2 separate regions of the Homo sapiens genome follow, and region 1 is linked to region 2. Evidence: promoter capture Hi-C in 16 types of primary human blood cells and fetal thymus (Javierre and others, 2016). All regions are on one chromosome and are shown on one strand. Each heading gives the region's core, a stretch centred on a gene start or on the middle of the fragment in contact. The rest is flanking DNA. Distances are from core to core; before and after follow the strand shown. Region 1 overlaps ADD2 (adducin 2). Region 2 holds the start of ATP6V1B1-AS1 (ATP6V1B1 antisense RNA 1).

Region 1 (5,475 bases), core at 1,141-3,640, 280 kb after region 2:
TTGGGGTCTGAGACACATAATTCAGCTTTTGGTTGTGTCCACTGGGCTAGACTGACACTCCCTCAAGGCAGGGTCTTCTTCCACCATCTCCATTCCTCACCCCAAGTCAGCCACCTTCCTGGACACAAAGCAGACACTTAAAAAACCCTTGCTGGCCAGGAATGGCCTGTAATCCCAGCACGTTGGGAGGCCAAGGCTGGTGGATCACCTGAGGTCAGCAGTTCGAGACCAGTCTGGCCAACATGGTGAAACCCCGTCTCTACTAAAAATACAAAAATTAGCCAGGCATGGTGGTACACGCCAAAAATCTCAGATACTCAGGAGGCTGTGGCAGGAGAATTGCTTGAACCCAGAAGGCGGAGGTTACAGTGAGCTGAGGTCACACCACTGCACTCCAGCCTGGGTGACAGAGGGAGACTTCATCTCAAACAACAACAGCAAAAACCAAAAAACCCTTGCTGGCTTGCTTGGAGCTCTAATGTGCCAATTGAAAAGCAAATAGAGGAACATGGCACTTTTTATCCCTAGGGATTGTTTGGACAGAAAATGTAAATTTGATGAATTAAACAATAGTTACATGCAAAGAAATCATGGGTGTTTTTAAGGGGAGTCAGCAAAAAATAAAATAAGGGGAGTTGGTGGTTGTGGGTCCACCTCTTACCCGTTGATGTGCTCTGTGCTCACGACACAAAGCTCCTGGCTGGTTCTCTTCAGAGACAGGACAGGAACGAGAGCCAGGCTCTGGTCCGGCCGTGTGCGAGTTCTTCAGCGTTGCCCTCCACATCTGGAGTAACATATTGGTAGGTGTGTTTTGATGAAGGAAACATGACTCCACCCTCTCCCATTGGCCTTCCCAGGGAAGTAGCAGAAATCTAAGAAGGTCAGGGGGAGGAGCTAACTTCAGCTAGAAGTCTCATTATCAGCCAGGAGGATTGATGACCAAATAGAAAAAAGTAATTTTTAAAAGGCTTTATTTCCCTGCCCATCTCTTCTCTATTTGACCTCTATCCTGAGGTGTTTTTCTGTTTTTTCAGGAGAGAAAGAAACTGCCCCAGAAGAGCCTGGCTCACCTGCAAAGTCTGCACCTGCTTCTCCAGTGCAGAGCCCAGCGAAGGAGGCAGAGACAAAGAGCCCTTTAGTCTCTCCTTCCAAGTCTTTAGAGGGTGAGTCCAGCTGAGTAGGCTGGGAGGGAGGGAGAGGGGTGCATCTGCAGGCTGGGAAGGTGCCCTGCCTTCCACTCGTGTTGCCCCTAATCTGAAAATCTTTCCCCTCTGCTATTTCTAGGAAATCAGAAATAGGGGTTATCAAGTTTCATGTTGTTTCACTCACAAGCTATAACACTACACCTTGCAGCTTAAACCCAGTATAAGCAATGAAGAATAAGTTACTGGCTGGCCCCCGGCTCCTTGCCCCAACTCAGACATGGCCGGGGCTGTTAGGCCTTTCCAGATGCACTAGCCCCTTTCTCAGACCTTAACGTGTATAGGTACCACCTGGGGATCTTGTGAAACTGAAGATTCTACTTAGTAAGTCTGGGATGTGGCCTAAGATGCTGAATTTCCCAGGTGAGGGTAATGATGTCATACTCAACCTTAACCGCACATTGGAATCACTTGCGGAGCTTTAACCGTCTTGATTCTTGGATCCCATCCCCAGCTTTTCTGAGTTAAGGAAAACTCAGAAAAGTCTGGAGTCAGGTGGGTTTAGGAGTACAGCCTGGAGTTTTCACGTCTCTCCAGGGGAATCTAAAGTGTGTTCCAGGTTGAAAACAGCTTCAATAGAGAGCTACTAGCTTAAAGAACGGAGTTCGAGGCCCAACTGAACTGCTAACTAGTAATAACAGCTAATTTTAGCAAATCAGCATCTCTGAGCCTCAGTTTTGTTGACTGTCAGATGGGGCTACTCATATAGTCCCTTTTTATATATGTATAAGGGAAGTGTAGGTGAAAACATACTTTGAAAGAGTAAAAGCAGGACTTAAATAATTTAAGATGCAATTACGGTTATGGTTAATAGTATACATAAAGTGGATAAGAATTATAGTTCCTGGCCACCTAAATCATAAAAGTATCTTTACTGAGCTCCTGGAATCACTCCAGGGCATGCACACTCCATCCCAGGTCCCCGGAGACCCCCACCAGACAGAGCTGTCCTGCTACCCAGAGAGCAGAAATCTGGTGGCCTATTGGAATCTTCTCCCTCTGGAGTAGAACGGCCACACGTGTGGATTCTGATAGAATCCCCCAACCCTGAGCTCCCTCCACAAGCAAACTATTGCCTCCTGTGCAGGCCCAGTGTTGCCAGAAGAAACCCGTCTGCTTGAGGCCAGAGCCCCAAGTGGATGTACCCCGACTGTTGTGTTCATTGTGTCTCACTGTGGTGTTGTCAACCTGTCTCCACAATGTCTTCCTTTCTCTTCCCATTTGTGCCTTCATCAAAGGAGTTTCCTCCGATTCTGAATACTTGTCTCTGTAGTAAGTATAGAGAGGCTGTTTACTAACTCACTGCAACCCTTGCAATGGGGGAGGGAGGATTTTTTTTTTCAAAAGAAATAGATTTCTCCCCACATTTTTCTTTTGCGACTCACAACTCTGCCTTTGGGAAGTTTCCTGGCTGTAAAATTCATGGCCAATTCCACATGCACTATGCATGGATTAGGCTTCTCTACATGAGATGTGGATATACACACATAGGCCACACACATACACAAACACACAGGCACACACGCCCAGAAGCAACAAGCTCCCAAGAGTTTGCAGGCAGTAGGGCCAACTCTCGGGCACTCCCGGTGGTAGAGTGCTTACGGCTCTCAGGCGCTCACTCCTACCCCTCTTCCTAATGCACAGGCACCTTGAAGGAACCTGTGGCCTCATCTAGGTTTTGGGCTAGAGCCTGAACTGCCTTATAAGGATGCATAGAGGGCCTGGTCTGCTAGGGTCTTCAGGACATGTGTTCCAGCTGCAGGAAGGAAATCCAGGGCTGGAGAGGAGGCTCATGGAGGAGTGGGACAAGGGCCAGGAAGGGCATGCAATGGGTGGGGTAGCTGTTTACCCACTGCCTGACATTTTACACCCTATAGCAGGATTCTTCATTCTTCCCCTGGAGGGGCCCACGGTTGAGTTGTTAGAAGAGTTGTCTTGAAGATACTTCCCATAACCCACTTCCTATAACAGACAGAGCTAGGGAGCATGGCACCTTGGAGCAGACCCTGCATGACGAGGACACAAGCTGTAGTTGGGTGGGGAGCCCGGTGTGAAGCCTTGGCCAGGCTGCTCACAGGCTTGCTGGACTCCTGGGCAGACAGAACTGACCCACCATGCAAGTCTCTGCTCTTTCACATCTAGCCCACCCATCAGATCAGGGATGGCTTTTTCCAACCATTTGCCACCATGTCCTCAATTCTCTTATGCTGAGTCGCCTCAGTGTCACTCCTCATCTGTCTACCTGACTCCTACCCCATCAGCCTCTCTGAAGGCTGGCCATCAGAGAGAGCCTTTGCATCTGGTCATCTGTGCTATCACCTTCTCTTTAGCTCCTGTCAGACCCTTGTCCCAGCTCACCTTATCCTCTGCTGAACCCTCAGGGCAACTGGCTACGCCTGCAAAGAAATAGCCCTGTATTTGACATCACATGATCACATGATCAGCTCTGCCACTAACTAATCTAGCCATCTCAAACAAGTCATTTAAAAACACTGCTGGATGGGAATAACATGAATCTGCCTTTCCTAACCCACAGCATGTTGTCAGGATAAAATGAGCTACTGAATATAAAAGTACTTTGTAATATGCTTTACATAAGTTAGTCCTTTTTATCTACCATGTTCTCCAAATTGTGAGAGCTAATACAGTACTTGATGTTTTAAGCCACTAAGTTTTAGGGTGGTTTGTGATGCAGCAATAATATTTGATTTAAGTCATGGTATAGAATAAGAACTAGTATTACGGAAATTAGTTCTTTTGTGGGTTGACTGGGGTTGTTGGGGCTTAGCTGGATGATTTCTAATTGATGTGATATCTGCGGAGGGCTCCAGTCAGTAGGGAGCTTGACTAAGCTGGAACTTCCAAGATGGTGCACTTACATGCCTGGTACCTTAGCAGGGGCAGCTAGAAGGCTGGGCTCAGCTGGGACACTGAGATGGCTGGGTGTCTGTCTGTCTGTCTGTCTCTCTGTCTGTCTCTCTCTCCCTCTATGTGGTCTCAGGGCCCACCCATGCGGCCTCTCTACATGTTTTTCCATCAGGGTTGTTGGACTTTATACATGGTGGTATAAGGCTCCCAAAACTGTGAAAATAGAAGTTGCTAGGCCTTCTTAAGTCTTTGGCCTGAGGCCTGCTTTGTGGATCTTCCACTGCATTCTATTGGTTTTGCCAGCCACAGGGCCAGCCCAGATTCAGTGTGGATACCCGGAGGGATAGCTCATTGGGGTCATATTTGCACACAAGCTCTACCAGATACTGAAAGTATATTTGGGTACTTAGAGGAACATTTGTATCCTAGCTGTGGTGAGTGGATGGGAGTCACAGAGTCCACTGCATCCATTTATGAGAAGCTCTACTTTCTTTTTTATCAGTGGTACTCTCAGTTTTTGGGGGTAAGTAAACGTCGGATAAAGCATAGCATTCTAAACTTATGTTTCTCAATGTGTGGCTAATGGGCCTTTTGTATCAGAATTACCTGGGGACTTGTTAAAAATCTCTATTTCTTGGTCCACCTTCTGTTTCAGTTTATTGTGAGGACAACACTAAAGAAGATGCATTTTCACAAGCTCTCTGGGTGATTCTTTCAGACACGGATGTTTGAGAATTTAAACCCAGACAGAAACTCTGTTGCAAACCTCTCTGCGTGGCCAGCATCCAGCTCAATGGTCGGCCATGGGCAGCTCAGCTTGTTGCTCTTCTTCCCCTCTGCTCTGTTCTTTGAGCACCCGTGGGCCTTCTTGACTGTTGCTGCATGAGTGCCCAGCCCTTGTGTCAACATAGGACATGTTTTTTTTCAAGGTCTTTAATGAATCTCTCTATGACCTCTCTATGCAATGGTGTGGCACTGCCTTTTCAAGAGAAAAGTAAAAGCTGTACATGGCAGTGACCAGTTCTCCTTGCATTTGGAATGTAGGTCAGGATCCATCTGATTGACCTTGTGTTCAGAAGCGCGTCAGCAAATCCTGTTTCTAGGCCCTCCACTGGTGTCTTCCCTGCTGCAAAGAGAGGGCTTCTCAAAGCTGGGGGGCTTGAGGCAAGAGGTCATGTGTTTGAGCCTGAGATGTCAGCAGGCAAGAGAAGGAAAGGCAGCCTTGCTCCTTCAATTATGCAAGGTCCATATTCCTTCTCCATGTCTTTACCCCAGTGCACGGCCACAGAAGAGCCCAGCTGCTGAGCTGATACAAGGCATCCTCTGTTGAGCCTTCATCTGACCTCACTTGGCAGACGTCAGCAGCAGTAAACATGGCTTGAACATGTTGTCACTGAGCTGCATG
Region 2 (5,818 bases), core at 2,707-5,206:
GTCAACATAGATTAAAAAAGAATCCTATAAGATTATGTAAATAGAAGCCAAAAGGCTTCTGATAAAATTCAGCATCTGTTTTATGTGTGGTTTTTTTTTTTTTTGAGACAGAGTCTTACTCTGTCCCCCAGGCTGGAATGCAATGGCGAGATCTCGGCTCACTGCAACCTGCGCCTCCCAGGATCAAGCAATTCTCCTTCTTCAGCCTCTCAAGTAGCTGGGATTACAGGTGTGCGCCATCACGCCCGGCTGATTTTTTGTATTTTTAGTAGAGATGGGGTTTCACCATGTTGGCCAGGCTGGTCTCCAACTCCTGACCTCAGGTGATCTGCCCACCTTGGTCTCCCAAAGTGCTGGGATTACAGGCGTGAGCTACTGTGCCTGGCCAAGCATCTGTTTCTAATACAATTCTATATAAAACAGGAATGGAAGGCAACTACTTGAACACTAAACTATTAACCAAAACCAACATCAACATCCTTGTACATGGTAAAATGCTAACGTTACTTTCATTTCCAATGAAAATCAGTAACAGAGATGCCTATATTATAATTGTTACCTAACATTGTTTTGGAAGTTTTTGTTTATACAGTAAGACCAGAAAAAGAAAAAAGAAAATTAAACATAAACAGAGAATGTTCTATTTATTTTTATTTATCTTTTTTTTTTAAGACAGAGTTTCACTCGTTGCCCAGGCTGGAGTGCAATGGTGCGATCTTGGCTCACTGCAACCTCTGCCTCCTGGGTTCAAGCGATTCTCCTACCTCAGCCTCCCAAGTATCTGGGATTACAGGCATGTGCCACCACACCCAGCTAATGTTTTGTATTTTTAGTAGAGATGGGGTTTCTCCATGTTGGTCAGGCTGGTCTCGAACTCCTGACCTGCCTGCCTCGGCGTCCTGAAGTGCTGGGATTACAGGCATGAGCCACCGCGCCTGGCCGAGTGTTCTATTTTTTTAAAGGTGGTGGTTGAAGGTGACTGTATTCTTCAAAAATGTCAAAGAAAGGCTGTGGGAAGTCAAAGAAGGGCTGTGGGAAAATGTTCCAGATTATAGGAAGCTAGACAGACATGACAAATGCAATACCTGACCCTAGACTGGATCCTATACTGGAGTGAAAAAAAAAATGCTACATTCCAATTTATCAGCTTACCCGATATCAGGTAAACTGATAAATTGGAATGTGGATGGTAGATTAAAGTATTGTATCAGTATAAATTTCAGAAGTTGATAGCTCTACTGTAGTTATATAAAAGAATATCTTAATTCTTAGGAAATATACACTGAAGTACTTGAGCTTAGCGTACCCTCAAAAGATTCAGGAAGGCCGGGCGCAGTGGATCATGCCTGTAATCCCTGCACTTTGGGAGGCCGAGGCGGGCAGATCACCTGAGGTCAGAAGTTCGAGACCAGCCTGGTCAAAATGGTGAAACCCTGTCTCTACTAAAAATACAAAAATTAGCCAGGCGTGGTAGAGGGCGCCTGTAATCTCAGCTTCTCGGGAGGCTGAGGCAGAAGAATCGCTTGAACCGGGGAGCTGGAGGTTGCAGTGAGCCAAGATTTTGCCACTGCACTCCAGCCTGGGCAACAAGAGTGAAACTCCGTCTCAAAAAAAAAAAAAAAAAAAAAAAAAAATCAGGAAAAAATTATGCACACACAGTCACACATGGAGAGCAAATGATAGAGCAAATGAGATAATATATTAACCGTTGGTGACATGGATGTTCCTACTACTATTTTTATCTTTGCAAATTTTTATAAAATTGAAATTGTTTCAAAATAAAAAGTAAAGTAAAAGTATACTGACGGAAAAAGAGACATAATTCCCTTTATTTGCAGATTATATTATACATTTAGAAAGACTCAAGAGGTTCTGGTTTAGAAAGAAGGTTTTAGAATGAATAAGATAATTTGGCTGTTTATAAGATAAATATTTAAAAATCATTCCCCCCCTCCTTTTTTTTCTATTTTAGTAGTAACCAGTTAGAAGAGGCAACGGAGAAAACCATCCCATCTGCAATAGGGCCAAAACTCATAAAATAGCTAGAAATAAATATAACAAGAAAGGTACAAAAAAAAATTATGGAATAACATAAAACAAGTCCTAAACAATGAAGAACATTATTGTCTTAATGTTCTTAGTTACTAGCATAAAAACATTAATCCTTTTGAAAAGTATATAAATTTGATCCAACCCTAATGGATTATTGTTTATTTTAAAATTTAATAAAATTATTTTAAAGTTCACATAAATGTCTGAGAATAGCCAAAGTAGTTATGAAAAAGATCAGAGATAGAGGACTTGCCTTTTCAGATATTAAAACTTGTTATAAAGCTACTGAAGTCAAGCAGTAAATTGATATGAGGTAGACAAATGGATCAGTAGGAAAGAAAAAAAGTCCAGAAGGAGATCCCAGATTTTATAGGACTATTATAGAACAAATGTTGTATATTAATTAATTCTCAGAGGGGAAATAATATATAGAACATAAGAGGATATCTAGTTAGAAGATAACCACATCATAAACCCAAATACATTCCAGGCATGTAAAAAAAATTTAAATATAAAGTAAAAACAATTTTTAAAAAATACTGGAAGAGCTTTTCTTCTTTCCTATCTTTCTGAATAATCCAATTAAAAGACAGATGAGCAATGTCTTTAAGCAAGACAAGAAATTCAGAAGGTATAAACAAAAAATATTTGATCATATGAGTATTTCAAACTTCTGTATGGCAGAGACACAATAGATGAAATCTTTGTTTCATTTATTGTTGCAAAAGATAGCCTGTGAGCAATAAACAAGGAGCTCCCGTATGCACAACTTGCTTGGTAGGAAGATTTCACGGAGAAGGAAGCAAAATCAAAATGGTAAACATATGGACAGACACTCAACTTTCCTAGTTATCAGAGAAATGTAAATAAAAGCGAGACAGTACTAGTTTTCATTTATTAGATAGGTAAAACTACAGAGAGAACATATTCAGGGCCAGCAAGGATGTGGGGAAGTGGGTCCTCTCATACCTGGTTGGTGGAAATGTGAATTACCACAACCCTTCTGGGCAAGCCATCTTGCCCCAAATTGTCAATATCTAATTTGAAATAAAAAAGTACTTGAACCAGCAATTCCACTTCTGGGAATCTATCCTATAACCACAAAAGCGTCCGTTTAAAAGGGATACAATATTGTACTATTTGTAATGGCAAAACCTGAGAACATACGAATGTCTGTCAATAATGGGACTATTGAGTAAGTTACAGTACATCCATACTATCGCCTGCTATGCCAGTATCCAAAAGAATGCGTAAAATGTGTATCCGCTGACACTGTCAGTGGATCCACTGTCAGTCCCTTGGCTCTCAAGGGACTGACCCCGAGGTCAACCTCTAACATATTTGCCTGTGTTTGAGCGTATTCAGCAGGGTCTTTCGGGGCTGAGAATAAAGCGGTTAGGGGCAGATAGTTAACTTTACGTGTCTTTCCTCTTTTTCACTAAGTTACAAGGAGCATGTATTATTTTTGCAATTAAAATATAATACATTTTTAGGACATGTTACAGCACAGTGCTGGTGATTATCATCATCATTACTATCGTTATATCACCTACTGGCCACAAACTAGTGACCTTAAGGGCTTGCGGGTTGGGGCGGAGGGTCCAATTCCCCAGCAAGGTGTGACCAAGTAGGGACCACTCCGCCAGGGAACCCCTGCTGGTCGAACTTGAGACTAGGTTTGCAGCCCTGACAATCACACGGAAGGGAGCGCTACCTTGAGTCCTCCCTTGTCCTGTGAAGAGGATGCCAGGAAGGTGACCTGTGGTTCCCCAAACCACCCCTCAGCCTTGCGGAGTGGGGGCTTCAGCACTAGGCCGGCCGGGGAGGAGGGCTCCGAGGTGGGAGGAGCTCCGAACACCCAGGCGTCTTGGGTTCTCAACCACAAGAGGGAGCCCAGGAGCACGGACAGCGAGGGCCTGGGAAACGCGTGGAACACACGTCCCGGCTCGTTTTCCTCTCCCACTCTGATAACCTGTGTTTCGATACGAAACGGGCCCTGCCTCATTATTTGTCATCTCCCTGGAGGTGACGGAGGGCTGTTTCAACCTCAGGGGAAAAGTTGCTGTACAGAACACAGGCCAGAGTGTGCCCCAAAGAAATCAGGCGGTGGAGTGATTTAAAAGTGATCATTTTCTGTAGTCCTAGCTACTCGGGAGGCTGAGGCAGGAAAATCGCTTGAACCCGGGAGAAGAAGGATGCAGTGAGCAGAGATCGTGCCATTGCACTTCAGCCTGGCGACAGAGCAAGACTCCGTCTCAAAAAGAAAAAAAAAAAGTGATCATTTTCATGTGAGTTTATGTGGGTGAGAGAGGGAGGGTGGCAGGAGAGGAGAGTGGAGAGGAGAGTGGTGCGTTCTGTGTCCCTGAAGGACAAAATCAGAGAAAATGAACTTTAAATGGCAGAAATTGTGGTCAGATCTGGGGAAGGGCCATCAGGTTTTCACACTCAGGCATGGAGGGTGTAGTGTCTGGAACCTTTAGGAAGAGCCCCAGGCTCTAAGTGTGTGCTGGATGTTCGTCGTTATTGTTGTTGGTGGTGGGATCTCATGACCAGTTATGGCAGTGGGTACCTGGGAGAATTCCCGTGGGGGATAGCTAGTCCAGGAGCTTGTATCTTAAGGGGCCCTATTTCCCAGCCGCATACTGAGCAGGCCTGATCCCATCAACTCGGTTGATGTCGGTTACTAAGAGGGCTGCAGGAAGAGGGCATGACTCAGTGCAATGTAACCCCGTGCTGGAGATTCAACTGAGCTCTCAACCAGCAAGTGGCCAGGCACAGGGGAGCTGCTGTCTACACACGGAGGACTGGAAGTTCTTAGCAAGCCTGTCGGGATTTGTGCACAGGAATGCTGCCTCTAAGGTCCCTCCTGCTGACAATGGCCAGGGCAGTGCGGAGGCTCCTCTTTGGAAATTGTCTTCAGAGCTGATGCAGACTCTTTTGAAAGCAGCCACAGACATTGGGGATGGAGTCTGGTGGTTAAGGTGAGTGCTTACTCCAATTCTCAAACAGGGACCAATTTGAATCACAGACTACAGGAGTCAGAAGATTCTCTAGAACAGAGGTTCTCCGTGTGGTCCCCATACCAGCAGCATCACCTAGGAACTTGATAGAAATGTACATTCTTGGGCCTCCTACCCCAGGCATGCTGAATCAGAGCTCTGGGGTGGGGCCTAGCAATCTGCCTGTTAACAAGCCCCCTGCACCCCTGATATTCTGATGCTTGTTCAACTTATACAAATCAGAGAGTTAGACTTTTCTGGGTCACGAACCCTGAAAAATCAGACGAAACTGTAGAAACTCCTACCAGAAAAATGCACAGGCACATTCATGCATACCTTCAAAGGTCTGCACACAATTTCAAGGGCCTAATTCCTTGGGCTAAGAACCTCTGATCTACACAAAATTCTTCCCTCAAATGTTCTTACATTTGAGGACGGAAGCAGGAAGAGTAATTGCCTGTGTGATTCAATGTGGGCAGAAGGTGGCGCTGTAGAAACAGAATTGTAGCATTTGCCAAATCCTGGTAGAGGGAAAGGGGTAGGGGCAACGGAGAGGGATGGGGAGAGGTGCCTCCACCACCCAATTATTTTTCTCTGCCAAAGCTACAGATGCATCCGATAGTCGCAAAACCACAGGTCTGGGGACCTAGTTCTGGTTTCCTAGATCGGCCTCATTTTACAGTGGAGAAAATGGACACCTGTATAGGTTCCGACTCCATGCCACACTGGGTCCCATGGAGAATGGCAGGTCTGGTGGAGAGTGTGGT

What was found. The method cuts DNA at HindIII sites, captures the fragments that hold promoters and counts their contacts. A CHiCAGO score of 5 or more calls a contact.
Region 1: a contact is called between a fragment that was not itself captured here and the fragment with the promoter of ATP6V1B1-AS1 in region 2, in 1 of 17 cell types (M2 macrophages). The highest score is 5.6, in M2 macrophages.

Annotation. Positions count from the first base shown.
Region 1 is chr2:70,668,566-70,674,040 of GRCh38, reverse strand. It overlaps ADD2 (adducin 2), which reads left to right. Exons shown (of 16, transcript NM_001617.4): 15 at 1,035-1,163. It overlaps LOC105374794 (a long non-coding RNA gene), which reads right to left and starts at 786. Exons shown (of 3, transcript XR_940230.3): 1 at 662-786. The HindIII fragment of the contact is 7,132 bases long and covers 1-5,475 here.
Region 2 is chr2:70,946,749-70,952,566 of GRCh38, reverse strand. It overlaps ATP6V1B1-AS1 (ATP6V1B1 antisense RNA 1), which reads left to right and starts at 3,956. Exons shown (of 2, transcript NR_110274.1): 1 at 3,956-4,340. The region is part of intron 2 of ATP6V1B1 (ATPase H+ transporting V1 subunit B1); the gene reads right to left. The HindIII fragment of the contact is 10,354 bases long and covers 1-5,818 here.